Linked DNA regions of Homo sapiens: region 2 is linked to region 1. Evidence: promoter capture Hi-C in 16 types of primary human blood cells and fetal thymus (Javierre and others, 2016). All regions are on one chromosome and are shown on one strand. Each heading gives the region's core, a stretch centred on a gene start or on the middle of the fragment in contact. The rest is flanking DNA. Distances are from core to core; before and after follow the strand shown. Region 1 holds the start of TMCC2-AS1 (TMCC2 antisense RNA 1). Region 2 overlaps CDK18 (cyclin dependent kinase 18).

What was found. The method cuts DNA at HindIII sites, captures the fragments that hold promoters and counts their contacts. A CHiCAGO score of 5 or more calls a contact.
Region 2: a fragment that was not itself captured here is called in contact with the fragment with the promoter of TMCC2-AS1 in region 1 in 2 of 17 cell types (naive B cells and total B cells); the score reaches 7.0 in naive B cells.

The regions. Positions count from the first base shown.
Region 1 is chr1:205,234,320-205,241,766 of GRCh38, reverse strand. TMCC2-AS1 (TMCC2 antisense RNA 1) reads left to right here and starts at 4,476. Exons shown (of 3, transcript NR_183258.1): 1 at 4,476-4,583; 2 at 4,809-5,262. It overlaps TMCC2 (transmembrane and coiled-coil domain family 2), which reads right to left. Exons shown (of 5, transcript NM_014858.4): 2 at 1-262. The HindIII fragment of the contact is 7,142 bases long and covers 4,241-7,447 here.
Region 2 is chr1:205,516,126-205,523,572 of GRCh38, reverse strand. It overlaps CDK18 (cyclin dependent kinase 18), which reads right to left. Exons shown (of 16, transcript NM_212502.3): 2 at 276-426; 3 at 1-90. The coding sequence starts at 405. Among named protein-coding and RNA genes, the nearest start is that of CDK18, 15 kb to the right of the region's middle. RefSeq lists enhancers at 1,322-2,147, 5,363-6,062. The HindIII fragment of the contact is 168 bases long and covers 1,167-1,334 here.

The DNA.
Region 1 (7,447 bases), core at 3,227-5,726:
AGCGGATCTGCTGCAGCACGCGGTTGAAGGCGGTGGGCCGGGCGGGCAGGTCGTGCAGGGACATGGCGTAGGAGACGCGATGCATCTCCGGAGAGCGCTCCTTCTCATCTGGGGAGTCATGGTCGGACATACCCTGCTGCTGCTGATGCTGCTGGGAATCCTGAGACGTCTGGTGCTCCCTTTCCCGAGACCGACGGCGGCTGTGGAACAGGTGCTTCAGACCGTGGCCAAACATGGAGCCCTCTGACAGCTGCTGGATTTTCTTAAGGGGGAGAGATGAAGAACCCTGGTGAGTGGAAAGCTCTTGATTGCCTAGTCAGTAGGAGGGTGAAGGTGAAGGGTCTGTCCTTGGTAGACTGGCATAGCTAATGCAGCCATCTGAACCTGGAAGATCTCTGTGGATGGCCCGTCGTGCATAAAGGGTCAGTTTGCGAAAAGGTGGCAACCCAGACCCATCCTTTCATTCCGAAAGAAGTGTGCCCCCACGGTTTTCCACGGGACATTCCTAATCAAAATGAAGGTTCAGAGTTTCTAGGAATGATGCTCTCAGGGCTTCAGTCTGGGGCTTAATGGCATACACAGGTAGCACTTGGCTCATGGGGTTGTATCCCTCTAGATTGATCCCCACCCCCAGTCCTTCCCTCCTTCCAAGTTAGACGACCCTTCAAGCTGTACTAGTTCTTTCAGGCCACCAAGCATCGATTTCCAAAGTTGCCTAATTCCAACATTCCCCCAGTAAAATCAGGGTCATACAATCAAGTTATACTGTTGTAGCAGACACTGCTAATTGCCTACCCAATATCTATTTTTCTTTCTTACCAACCAAACTGCAAGGACTTAACTCACCTTGCTAAAAATTCCTGCTTCATCAGACTCCCCTTGCAGCTAGGAGTAGCCACATGACACAGTTTGGGCCAACGAAAAGCAAGGTGAGAGCTTCTGGGAGCACTTTTGCTTTCCTGATAAAGGCACTGGCCCTTCCCAAATCTTCCCATCTGGAATGGGAACGTAGTGCCTGGAGATGCAGTGGCCATTCTGCAACCACAAGATGACATGGTTGACGATGAGGGTCTGCACACAGATGGTGGAGCCCAAGGGACAGGCCTGGGAACTTGAAGGTCTATGGAGCCACCAAACCAGTTGTGAACATCTATCCTGGGATTCTTGTTGCATGAAATAAACCCATCTTTGTCTACACAACTCTAGTATGATTTTCTGTTATTTGCAACCAATTTCATTCCTGATATGGTTGGCAATGAAATAAACTTTACTTCTATGAGCAAACCTTGTGACATAGTAATGTGACCAATTCTTTAGCATACACATCAGAACAAGCTATCCAAATGAGTGTCTTTCCCCTTAGATCCAAAGCATAGAGGCACTGCAACCCGGTGCCGCCCAGGCCACAGCCTTTCCTCTTAGCCCTGTTGCTGAGATTCTCCAGCTGCTCTTCCGGCAAGACTGCTCACAGAGGGGCAGCTGGATGGCCTGCCAGGGCGAGCAACTGTGGTATAATTCCAGACAGCTGCTTCTGTCAGGGGACGGCTTATCCGGCCAGGTTGAGCCCTCTATGAGAGCTTTGGAGCTGTTGGAAGGAGGGGTGAGACTTGGAGGACCAGGAGACACCTCACATTCTGCAGCTCCTTAGAGGAAAACTCAGGGCCCAGCCATTTGGGACTCAATGAGCCATAGCAGGATTTCCTGTGAGGAACAACCCACAATCTTACCAGGCTGCCTCAGTCATTTAAAAAATGTTCCAAAAAATTACACAGACTGGATTTTCTTTTTTTTTTTCCCTAGAAACAAACTTACAGAGCAGAAAATCTAGACCATATAGAAACCAAGAAAAAGCAACCTGACATCCTCTAAATGAGCTGACCCCACTCTTAGGTTACTTTACAACTCAGCCTTGAGTTTGTGCAGATGGCTGCGCTTACAGCTGGATACAATAACTGTACTATTATGTATTTGTGTAAAATTTTAGGATTTTCATTTTTCACCTCATTTGAGTATCCCCAGAATCCTTAAAGTAGATGAGGCCCTTACATCACCCATTTTACAGACCAGATAAATTACATCATCACAACTCATCACGAACTAACGGTTTTTCATTTCAAAGGAGATTTGTATCCTGCATTATCCCATTGATTCTCCTAAATAGTAACAAAAGCAACAACGGAAACATCTCCATTTAGAGAAGAGGAAATTAAGGCTACCATGATTCCTTCTCAAGAACTGAATTCTGGGGCAGCCCTCGAGATCTTAAGTTACACAATGCCAGCTTTTCCCACAGGAGTTACCATCCCCTGGGGGCCAGCTTGAGGCAGGGTCACAAGGCTCACCTGAATCTGTGCTGGGGAGAACCAAGATGTCAACTCTGCCATGGACTTGGAACAGGCCAGATCCTGCAGCCTTCAGACCAGGGACCTGCCAGGACACCTCCCCCTTCCCCAGGCCCAAGCTGATGTGAGACCTCCCTCCAGACACTGTGATGGGGCCAGCTGGCTCTGGCATTTGCCCAGCTGCCTCTGCCAAATCGTCACATTCCATAATACGAATTGTCTTTCTAGCGTTCTATTCCAGGTCCCTTCCTCTTCTCCCCCCATTCCTAAACTGGCTTCTCCAACACTGAGGATCCACTCAGGCAGAAAGAGTTTCCCTTCTAAAGACTTCAGCAGAGGTCCTAGAGTTCTGAGGCATTTCCTCTCCCCTATCCCCGGGAGGCTGGTGGAGGTGCTGGGGAGAGCTACGGTGGCCACCGATGTCTGCCATATTGCCTTGGAGCCTAAAATCCTTGGTCAATTTACTTTTAAAATTTATACAACAGCATTTTGCAAAGTGCGTTCCGATTTATACTGTCATTATAATCTGACACTAGCCTAATCTCAGGAGCTAGGAATGTGAGATGTCACAGCATCAGTGTCTATTTTGCAGATGAAGAAACGGAGGCACAGCATAGCTAAGTGGCTCATCCAAGCCACACAGAGAAACCCCCGACTTCTAATTGAATTTACCTTCATGGGCCCATACACTGATTTCAAGACTTAAGATTTAAAGTAGATAGGGTATTTGCATGTGTCCCAGAATAGTATCAGAGGCAGGCGCCAAACAAAAATGCCTGGGTCAAGGGTTGTTAGGTCCCCTGAACTGCTGTTGTGACCTGCCCATCCCATGTTATGGGACAAGACCCTCAACTATAAAGTCTTTACTTCCCACCTCCCTGAGCTGTCCTGCAGCTGAAGGAAACCTAGGGAAAGTGACCAGGAGACCCCAGGACCTTTGTCCCAGCAGACCGAGGAATCTATTAAAGTCTGAGGCAGGCAGGAGGGAAATAACAAAAAGGAAGTCAAAGAACAAGGTGCAGAGAGAGGAGATTACTCCAAATGAAGGGGTTTTTCCTCACTGATAAGGTGCGAGGCGGGAACAGCAAAGTGACGCAAGGGCTGGGCCGCTTCTGCATGTGGGTGTCAGGGAGGAGATGGTTAAGGAGTTTTGACATAACACAGTAAGTGTTTTAAAAAAAAAAAACTCAGCACATACACATAACCAGCTACAAGTTTCAGAAGTGAGGAAAACCATGGTGACTAGCTTAAGGGAACTTAGCCGCCAACGCAGCAGAAAGCACCACCTGCTCTGACTAACAGGTTCCAGCTCCTAAAATGTCACTTGCTTTTCCACATTGACTTTTGCTTTTCCCTGGCTGCCAGAAACCATTTTGGTGGCCAAATGAAGCCATGCATTAGAGAGCTGAGATGCTTCAGAGTTAGAGGTGGCAAACAAACAGGGCTTTCATGATCTGTAAGACCGAAGCAAGAAGTGCCGTCCCCAGAACTGGCCATAAGGTAGTCAGAAAGGAGAGCCTCCCAGGGTGAGGTGCCCCGGGGAAGGAAGTGAGGGGAGTTGGCTGTCCCTCCCCTGGAACTATCTGAAAGGGCAGGAAGAGCCCCATCTCCTTGGGTGGCACTGTCCTTTCAGGAAAAAAGGGAGGACTAGATGGCTTCTGAAAGATCCTTCCTGAGAAGGCTGTGGTTTCTGAACAGTTGGGCTTCATCCGTCTTTCTCCCTGGGTGTGGGTCCCCCAAAGGGGAAGTTTGCTCCAAAATCTGCAAACACAGCTGCATGAATACAAAACTAAAATGCCTTGGGGTACAGTGTCATTGGCACCATCTGGTTAAAAATGACCAAAAGTGGTTTCTAATTTTTACAGGTACGTGTGTTCTCAACAAATCCCAGGAAAGCTTAAAGTCACACTAATCTATAGCTAATTATCCCACCTGGCAGCTGACTGCATAGCCCTTCCTCCTACCTGGGTTTGAAACTCCTTCCGCCCTACCAACAGTTTGGCTGTGAGGGTTCAGTGGGGTGACTGGGTCACCCTGAGCCTTTGCCAGCCTAGGTCGCCAACATTCCTCTATTTATAGGGTCTCTATGGAAACAGGGCCAGCATTAGAGAACTAATCACTGTAAAAACCCACAGAGTTCTACTCTTAGGATCCAAAGTGGATTGAAGAAGTCTCCAATTGCCCTTAAGAAGCTCTGGGTGGGGAGCCTGAGTGGGAGCAGGAGAGGAACCATTACCCCAGGTTTGGCGCTGATGATCACAGTGGTGTACAGTAGGCAGCTGCAACTGTTCAGGCCCACTTGGAGTTTCTACTGGAAACCCAGTGATGAAAGATTTTTGGAATCATTTATTTATTCCCCAGCCTCACAGATGAAATTTTAAAAAAAAAACTCAACTCATGGGCACACGGGCAAAAAATTCCCCCATTCTCAATTTTATTTTGATTCCTCTTTCCTTTATTGCTTAGAGAATTCAGCCTGGAGCCAAAGCAAGTGGGAAAAGGTCACCTCATCCACCATGTCTTTAGGCAGAACTGATTCAGCACACACCAACATAGAAGACTTTTATTAAAGTTCCCAGCATGGCGTGCCCTCTCTCTGCCTCTTTGCATCCTACCCATCCTTCACCACCTCGCCACTCCATAAAGCCCTCTCTGATCACACCAGTCTGCAGCGATCTCGCCCTGCTCTGAACACATAAGCGCTCATTATCTGCACCACTCATTTTGCAATTAATCGTGTACTGCCTTGTGACATCGCTTCTAGTGCTTTGTCTGACTGTTATCCAACTTCTCACCTGCTGACGGATGGAACCCTTGATGACAATATGAGTGACTGGACAGCAGGAGCTACAGCTCCTACATCTCTGTGTCCCTAACATTACCTGGCAGAGGCCTCAACACCAACATGGAAGACAGCTAGGTAAATTATTTGTTCATTTATTTTCTGAGCAGCCACTATCCAAGTCTCTACAAATCCATCTTACAAAGGTGATTTTAATCCTTAGATGACTACCTTTTCCAAAGACATAACCTTTCACAAAGATTTCAAATGCTCCAACAGCCTTTTCTTGTGTCTAACTCAGATTTCTCCTGCTGCAGTTTAAACCCTCTTCTCACTCTATTATCTTAGTAACCGCCAAGATTGAGTTGGCTTGGAAGGAGATGAACACAGACCAAGGAGCCAGAATGTATGTGATGTCTTCACAAATGGCTTAGGGAGGGCTTGGGAGGGGGCTCATGTCCTTACAGCCAGATTTGTTTTCCCTGGTGGACATCACTCAGTTAACCTGGCTGGAATAAGGAAGCCTTTAGTCATTTGGTTTAAAAATAACTGTTCTTTTTTTTTTTTTTTTTTTGAGACAGAGTCCTGCTGTGTCGCCTAGGCTGGAGTGTAATGGCGTGATCTCCGTTCACTGCAACCTTTGCCTGCCGGGTTCAAGCAAATCTCCTGCCTCAGCCTCCCGAGCAGCTAGGACTATACGGGCACACCACCATGCCTGGCTAATTTTTTGTATTTTTAGTAGAGACGGGGTTTCACCATGCTGGCCAGGCTGGTCTCGAACTCCTGACCTCGTGACCCCCCTGCCTCGGCCTCCCAAAGTGCTGGGATTACAGGCGTGAGCCACCGCGCCCAGCCAAATAACTGTTTTTCTAGCACAGTCACAAAACATACCTGTTATCCCCCAACAGCTTTGTTCTAACTTCTTACACGAAGAGAGACTTAAGTGTTTGGCTGACAAAGGTGGACCCTGTCCAGCTATGGCCTCATTCCAAAAATGTAGCATGCTAGTAGTCTATGGGGATTTCAAAGGCAGATGCCATTTCTTAAGGGAGAGATGAAAACAGAAATGAGTTCTGAGTTGGCCTTTAAGACCACCACTGAGAAGCTGCCTGAGCCCTTTTCCCCAGCTCCTGATAACCCCACACTTTGAAAACTTCAGCCCAAAATTTAGGTCCTATCAGATATTTCAACTCCTTGCTGAAGGAGATTCTTGTTAATGGGATTGGCAGTGAAGACATAATTAGATACACAAAAAGAAGCACATTCTGTAAATACTGAGCCTGCCAGACAGTTCCCACTAGAACAACTAGGGCAGCTGGGAATTAATCTAGAACTCAATATGTGGCAGGAGAACAGGGAGTTTCGTTTGCCACATGCTTTCCCATCGGTCACCAGTTCCCCCAGAGCCCACATAGAGGGCTGCTCTGAATATTACCTAGGCTGGAGGGGGTGGGGGGGAGGCAATCCTGGGCCTTCCAACCCTCTGCCTGCTTCATATAAGGTGCAAGCGGGACAAAACAGTTAACTTCAGCATTTGCACTACCCTCCATTGTTCCTGATCATTCTAGTCAAACAGGGCAAAGACCCTACAAAAGCACTTGCTACCTCACTTCCCCCATTTAGAAAGCCCCTCTTCTCTTGTTTGGTAATAAATGTCCCACCCCTTCTTTAAAATCTTGCTCTAGGCCGTGCGCAGTGGCTCACGCTTATAATCCCAGCACTTTGGGAGGCCGAGGAGAGTGGATCACCTGAGGTCAGGAGTTTCAGACCAGCCTGGCAAACATGATGAAACCCCATCTCTACTCAAAATAGAAAATTAGCCCGGTCTGGTGGTGCATGCCTATAGTCCCAGCTACTCGGGAGGTTGAGACAGGAGAACCGCTTGAACCCGGGAGGCAGAAGCTGCAGTGAGCCAAGATTGCGCCACTGCACTCCAGCCTGAGACAGAATGAGATTCCATCTCAAAAAAAAAAATCTTGCTCTAAACCCACCTCTTGCAGAACAACTTTCCTGATTAACCCCCATAAGTTTCTGATTGCACTGCATGATGCTCTAAGTACCCTTTAACTTCTATGTATTTCCATGATGGTTTTCTTAGAAGTATTTCATCCTATTTGACCTGGAGATCAGCTGGAGGTGAGGCCAAATAACTAATTTCCCATTTCCTTTTTGTTTGTTTGTTTTGTTTTTTATTTTTGAGACAGAGTCTCGCTCTGTCGCCCAGGCTGGAGTGCAGTGGCACGATCTCGGCTCACTGCAACCTCCGCCTCCCAGGTTCAAGCAATTCTCCTGCCTCAGCCTCCAGAGTAGCTGGGACTACAGG
Region 2 (7,447 bases), core at 1-2,500, 290 kb before region 1:
AGAGCTGCCCCGGCTCCTCCCCGCTGTCTGTTGGGGAGAAGGTGCTGCACTCCTGCGGGGGGTCTCTGCCAAGAGGACCGAGCTGCAAGTCTAAGAGGGACAGGCGTCAGCTCCCCTCCCTGCCTCTCTGTCCTGAGGGAGAGAAGGGTAGCCCCCCTCCCCCAGCGCTGTGCTCCTCCCCTAAGGCCAGTGGGGAGGGGGTGGGCGGGGAGGGGAAGGTGACTGGGGAGTGTCTGGTAGGTGGGAGAGGTGCTGGGTGGGCCCAGACCCCTCACTCTCATTCCGCCGGTTGTGGAGCTGGTTGAATTGCTCCGTGAATTCAGCCAAGGATTCTTCAATGGTCTCAGTGCGGGGCACTGACAGGGAGAAACGGCGCTTAAAGTTCTTCATCTTGTTCATGATCATGAGGGACTGGGCAGCCGGGTCCTGAGATGGGAAGTGTGAGAAGAGCAGTTGAAAAGAACAAGGCAACCAGTCCAGGTCTCCACCCACTGGGAATTCAGCTCTCTCATCAAGCTCTGTCGCCCTGTATGCCACCATCACTGGGAGCCAGGGTTGTGTCTTCTGCAAAGTTTGACCCCTCTGAGGGTGGGTGTTCACCCTCTTCTTCCCAGTCACCTTCTTCCTCCCAGTGACCCTCAGCACTGCCTCCACTGCCCACCGCCCGCCCCGCCACGCCCTGTGCAGTTCTCTATGGACCACCTAGTCCAGCAAAGTATTGGTCATAATAGCAGGCATGATGTGCAAAGAGGATCCTGAAGGCCCCCCAGACCTAAGCCCTTTAGCTGCTGGAGGTCTAGAGAGTTCTGGGGGAAGGGCTGGGGTGGCAGGGAGGGTGCCAGAACCAGGCAGTCCTTGGACCAGCAGAAATTTACCAACTTGTGTCCAAGGGCCTGAATGTGTCAACAGCCAATAAATCTTACTGACCAAGGCCCGTAAACTGAATGTCAGCTTGGCCAACACCCTTGGGACATGATTGGGTCCAAACCTCATTTCACCTCTGATACTGACACCTGAAGGTCTCTGCTCTGGCATGCCCCAGGAGGCAAGAGGGGAAAAAGAGGAGGAAGGGAAGAGTGCATCAGAGCTGGCCAGCTGCACCTTCTCTCCAGCTGAAATACAGGAGGTCAGGAGCAGTGGAAGGTCTCAGGGGAAACACGGAAGCTTGCCATTAATAGAGTCGAGCCCTAGGGAAGATGAGGCTTGATCCCTGCAGGCCTCTTCCCATGCCAGAGCCCTCCAAGCAGGCAGGTATCCCCTACCGAGAACACCATGGAGGAGCGGGGTAAGCTGCTCTGCCCACCCCCACGGTCCTGTCCCCAACCATGAAAGCTTTCTTCTTCAGGCTACCCAGCTCCTCGTGCCCTCTGAATTAGAGGATGCCCTGCTGGCCACCCAATGAGACCCATGCAACTGCTTCTTCCTGCAGACCCTCCCTTCTCCCTCCTGCCCTGAAAACCCAGAGCAGCGCTGTCTCACCTCCCCTCCACTTCCCTTCATGGTTTCCTACACGCTCAGTGCAGCCCCCCTCTCATCCTGCTCTGCACACACTGCCCTTGAGGCCTCACAAGGGCTTCCACCCATGCTGGCAAGAAGGCACCAGGGGGTGAGCCCTATGATGGGCCGCCCTGCACCCGCTCCCAGCTGTTACCCATGCACCAGCACCAGGCACAGCCCACTCCTGGAGGATGCTCTCAGCCCTGCGACTGGCCAGCACCTAGTTGCCAAGGCGACCAGGCCCTTCCCGAATCCTCCTGGTTTAAGGGATTATGGGTCAGTAACATGTTGGCTTTGCTTAATGATCACATCCTTCTGTCCTCAGCCAGCCTGGAAAGGGTCCTCTGTCTGGCAGCGCATGCTCCTGGCTGCCCCCAAACACAGCTCAGTGGTGGCCCTCCAGCTGCCCTGATCCTCATGGCTGGGTATGAACAAGCTCTCCTTCATTCCTTTAGCGGGCTGGCACCTTTCAGAGTGGAGGCCTCGGGTCTGCAGTGCTAGGCAGGCCCATCTCTGTCAGTGGGCCCTGAAGTCTCACTCAGTTCCACTGAACAAATGAACTGGCCGGGCATGGTGGCTCATGCCTGTAATCCCAGCACTTTGGGAGGCTGAGGCAGGTGCATTACTTGAGGTCAGGAGTTTGAGACCAGCCTGGCCAACATGGCGAAACCCTGTCTCTACTAAAAATACAAAAAAATTAGCTGGGCATGGTGGTGTGCACCTGTGATCCCAGTTACTTGGGAGGCTGAAGCAGGAGGATTGCTTGAACCCTGGAGGCGGAGGTTGCAGTGAGTGGAGATTGCGCCATTGCACTCCTGCCTGGGCGACAGAGCAAGACTCTGTCTTAAAAAACAAACAAACCAAAAAACTGAGCACCTACTATGCGCCAGCATTGTGCCAGGCATGAGGGTTTCAGAGGCAAGTAAAGGGTGGTCCCCATTCTCAAGAAACTCAGGGGCTGGTGATGCCTCCTTTGATGAGAAGGTAGCTGAAAGCGCTTCCTCTGGCTTCCTTGGCAGAGCCCACCAGCCTTGGACTTTCCTGACTCCCCATCCCTAAACTCCTTCCTGTCAGTCATCTTCAGCCGCTCCTCCGTGGCTCTGTGCAATGTCTCAGGCCTGCTGTCTGCAGGACTCTTGCAGACAGGAAGCTTCCAGAGGGCAGCCACCATGCCTCACACTTGTGTATAGCATTCAGGCCACAGAGATCTAATCTGGAGGCTTCATGATGGTGGCAGGGGGTGTGGGTCCCAGTGACAAGAGGACCCAGACACACCTACCTGGTGACTCCCATTTCCGAGCAAGATAGGAGAGTGGAGATGGCTCCTTGTAAAGATCAATTATTTTCTTTTTTCCTTTTTTCTTTTTTTTTTTTTTGAGATAGAGTCGTGCTCTATCACCCAAGCTGGAGTGCAGTGGCGTGATCTTGGCTCACTGCAACCTCCACCTTCCGGGCTCAAGCGATTCTCATGCCTCAGCCTCCTGAGTAGCTGGGATTACAGGCCCGCGCCACCACACCCGGCTAATTTTTGTGTTTTCAGTAGAGACAGGATTTCGCCATGTTGGCCAGGCTGGTCTCGAACTCCTGACCTCAAGTGATCTGCCCCTCCTCGGCCTCCCAAAGTGCTGGGATTACAGGCATGAGCCACAGCACTCAGCCAATTATTTTCAAAGATAGCTGAACATCAGAATCACCAGGGAGCATTGTAAAAAAATTCAGATTCCTAGGTCTCACCCTGAGATTCTGGAACTGAGGTTCTGAGAATGGTGCCTGGGAAAATGCATTTGAAAAAACATCTCCAATGATGTACACCTGGAGCGGTGACCAGGAAAACATCTAAGGTCCAGGTCAGGGACAATTATCTGCCCAGGCTTCCAGGCCACCCTCCTGTGCTGAGACGGGGGATCCTCAGAGCAGGGAAGGGAAGCAGGAGGCCCCCCACAGGAGAGGAAGTCTCTCTGTCCTGGAAGCCAGTGCATCTCCACCACACCAACTGATGTCCCCAATGTCCCCGTGCTTTGTCATGGTTGTTCTCTGGGGGTGGGGAGAGGCAGGCACTTGGCTCCCTGAGGTCTGAGCTCTGCCAGGAGGGAGACCAGCCACACCCCTTTCTAAAAACAGGGCTTCCCCATAAAACCGTCCTGCAGTCTGGGATTTATGGGATGGCATGTTGGATTTGCGGCTCAGGAATCTACAAGTAGCAACCATAAATCTCACACCCTTGCTCTTGCTTGTAGGGTGAGGGGAGGGGAGCTCATTAAAAGCCTCCGGGAAGGAGGCCCCCCATTTCTGCAAGACAAAAGAGATTCAGCCCTGAGTCACACCTGCTCTCCCTAAGGTTCAGTGAGGAGCAAGGAGCCACCAGCCTGTGCCTGGGGTGGGGAGGACAGTGGGGCTGGGAGCTGGAGGAAGGGTGAGGCCAGAGGCAGCTGACTGGAGCAGGAATGTGGGGCCAAGCAGTGCAGGCGATGGGGACCAGCTGTTCTCCACCCGCAGGACAGGAGCCTGAGAGGAAGTGGCTGTCACAGCAGCAGAAGGGATGGGGGTCAGATGTAGGATGGATTTCCTGATGGAAGGATGGAGGTCAGATGTAGGATGGACTTCCTGATGGAAGGATGGAGGTCAGATGTAGGGTGGACTTCCTGATGGTGACAGGGGAGCAGGCGGTGGGGGTGGTGACCACAGCAGAGTGGATGTCTCTCTCTGCTGGGGACAACCAGGGCATTGAACCCAGCAGGGTCTTGGGTGTGACAGGGCAGACTGGGCAGTGAATAGTCTGTTGTTCCCTAGGTCAAGACACAAGATGCCTCTGTCATTTTTCCCTTGGGAGAGTCAGCTCCTCAGATTTGGGGGTCGAGGGGGAAGGGAGACAGGAAAAAGGCCTGTCACCTTAGTGCTATCTACCCCTCACCCCCAAGTGGGGACAGAAGGGCTCAGTATGACCAGCCTGAGGCCAGCCCGGGGCCAGGCACAGCACAGCCTTTGTCCCCAGACCAAGGAGCCATCTGGGGCTGTCCCCGTGCAATTGGTGCCAGGGGAAGAGGGCGATGAGTGTCCAGGGATACTGGCCCGGCAGTGGGGGGTGGAGGAAGTTGAAGGAGCAGAGTCCCACTGAGGAGCTGCAGGGTGGGCAGGCAGACCCCAGCCAACCTCCCCTCCCACCTCCCTGCCCAGGTAAGTCATAAAGCTCAGCCAGCTCCAGTTGCTTCTTCCCAGGGACACAGCAGCCGGCCCAGAACCTCCTGCTGGTGCCAGAGCCATGGGTGGCACAGAAGGAGGAAGGAGGAGCCAGGCTGGGAAGAAAGCCAGCACTTGCCAGAGGCCACTGTGCCCCCAGTGAGCAGGGCTGGCCTCCCAGAATGTTAGCAGGGGAAGACGCTCACACAGCCTCCATCCCCATCCCTTGCCCAGTGAAGATGCTGAACATCCAAGAGGGGAAATGGCTTGCCCAGAATCACGCAGCAATTTCCTGGTTGTTGCCAAGTGCACAAACGTGACCATATTGCTCCTTTCTTCTCCTACCTGGAGCCCTCCCCGCCCTTGCCCCTTCCCTGTGGCCCAGGCTTGACTGTTTTCTCCTACTCTGAACTGCGTGCCAAACAAACTCAGTTTCAAACTTTGGTGCTACCACTAGCAGGCTATGGAATCGCAATGACGTGATAAAACCCCTCTCACCCCTGGCTCCATTCATTCATTCAACAATTATTGAACACCTGCTGCATGCCAGGCACTGTTGTAGACCCTGAGAATCCACAGATGAATGAAACAGACATTAATTCCTTTCCTAATACTTTCTAACAGGGGTAGGGGGGTGCGGACAATAGACAGAATGAATACACAGTATGATGGATGGTGACAAGTGCAATGATGGGAATTCATGCAGGGAAGAGGGAAGGTGTGGGAAGTGCAGTTGCAAGTTTAAGTAGGGTGGTCAAGAAGGCCTCCCCAAGAAGCAGGTGACATCTCAGGAGAAATCCAGAGTAGGTGTAAGGTGAGGGGGTCAGTCATGCAGGGTCTGGGAGAAGCAGGTCAACAAGGGAACAGCAGGGGCAAAGGTCCTGAGGCAGAAGTAAGTCTGGTTCACTGCAGGACAATGATGTGGCTGGAGAAGATGCTGGATGGGAGTGCGGAGCAGCTGTGTTGGGCCTCGAGGGGTAAGGAGGGTTTGAACGGATGAGTGACATGATCACACTGAGGCTTTAACACGCTGCTGTGTTGAGAACAGACAAGGGGAGCAAGGGGAGAGCAGGGAGCCCGGGCAGGAGGCTGCTGCTGAGGCCCAGGGGAGAGAGCTTGATGGTGGCTGGGACCAGCGGGGGGCAGTGGAGATGGTGAGAAGTGGCTGGATTTGGGCTATATTTTGAAGGTGGAGGCAAAGAGCTCTGCAGATGGATTGTATGTTGTGGGTGAGAAAAGAGTCAAGCATGACTCTGCAGCAGGGTTTTCGCCAAGCAGCCGGAGTGGAGAGATAGAACAGTCACTGGAGGAGACAAGGCATTCTGGGAGTAGTGGTTTCAGTGGGAAGACCAGGAGTTGGATGTTGGGCAGGTGACATTTTCAACGTACAGTGGTATCTGAGCAAACATGCTGGGTGAGCCAACACAACACACCACTGGCACAGGGAAGATGTCCAGCAAAGCTTGGCTCTCCTCTCTCAAGCTACTGCCCAGACAAAAAGAGTCCTCATATAAACTTCATCAAACATCCCTGCAGACTTCCTTATTGCAAGGTGCTTTTGGATCCCAGGATGGAAGAGGGCCAGGAGACAGGGAGCAGGATCATCTCTTGGCAGATGTGAGGGGGAGAAGGGCCAGGGAGGCAGGGTCCCCCCTACTTAGACAACTGCAGGGCCACGCAGGGTGGGGCCCGTGCAAGGCAGGGAACCCCGGCTACTGGCAGACAAGCCCCATCTTCTCTCTTAGGAGGAAAGAAAGCTCCACAGAGCAGGCCAGGCCAGCCCCAGGGCCCCAGTGTCCAGACAGGGCAGATTCCCAGCCCACTGACTGCTGGGACAACCTGTGCCAGGCCACAGACCTAATACCTGCCTTGGGGCTGGACCCCTGAGAGACCTTGACCTGGAGACCATGGAGGTGGAGAAGGAGGTTGACAGAGCATCCCAGGAATCTGGGATGCTGTAGACTGGAGGGCGGGAAAGTCAGCTTCACTTCTCAAGCTCCTGGGGCCAGGACTGGAGTCTTCTCTCAGCAAACCCCTTCAAGAAGCCTCTTTGCCTTCCTCTTGAACAAAGCCCCGATTCCCCAGCCTGCACCCAAAGGCCCTTCAAGATCTGGGGCCCCTTCGTCTCTGGCTTTGCCCCTCTTCATTGCCCCTGCATGCTGTACAAGTCTCTGGGGCCTTCAGGAGCTTCCTGGAACTCACTCCACCCCACCCCCAGGACCACCAGGTGCCCCTCCTTCAATGGGGCGTGACTTTTCACCTGTCTCCCTCATCTGGAGCACGTTGGTCTCTATGCCTGGTGCTGGTGGCATACAGCAGGCATGTGTCTGCTTTACAGGCACATGTGGAGCACCTGCTGTGTTCCAGGCACATGTTAGATGCATCCCCAAGTCCCTCTTTTTGTTTTGTTTGCTTTTCTTTTCAATCTTGGTCTCTGTGGGCCCAGGGGCAGGGGTTGGGGGACGTAACTTGTGGCTGCCCACTTTCTGAAGCCCAGAGGGTCTTCCCTTCAGTCACGAAGGCTGACCACCAGCCAGGATCCCTATGACACCCTATCTCCCAGTCCCTGCCCCTGCCTCGGTCACTCAGCCACTTTGGCCCTTGGGTGAATTTCAAAGAACTAGAGGCCATGGCTGACCAAGTTTGCAGACGTCATGAGCTAGGACCTCAGAGACACTCCCTCCTCCCAGGGAGAACTGTGCCTGCTGGGAGCCTGCAGATACCATCTCTTCCTTCATCCTCCAGCTGACCCTGTTCTGCACAGCTGGAGGCC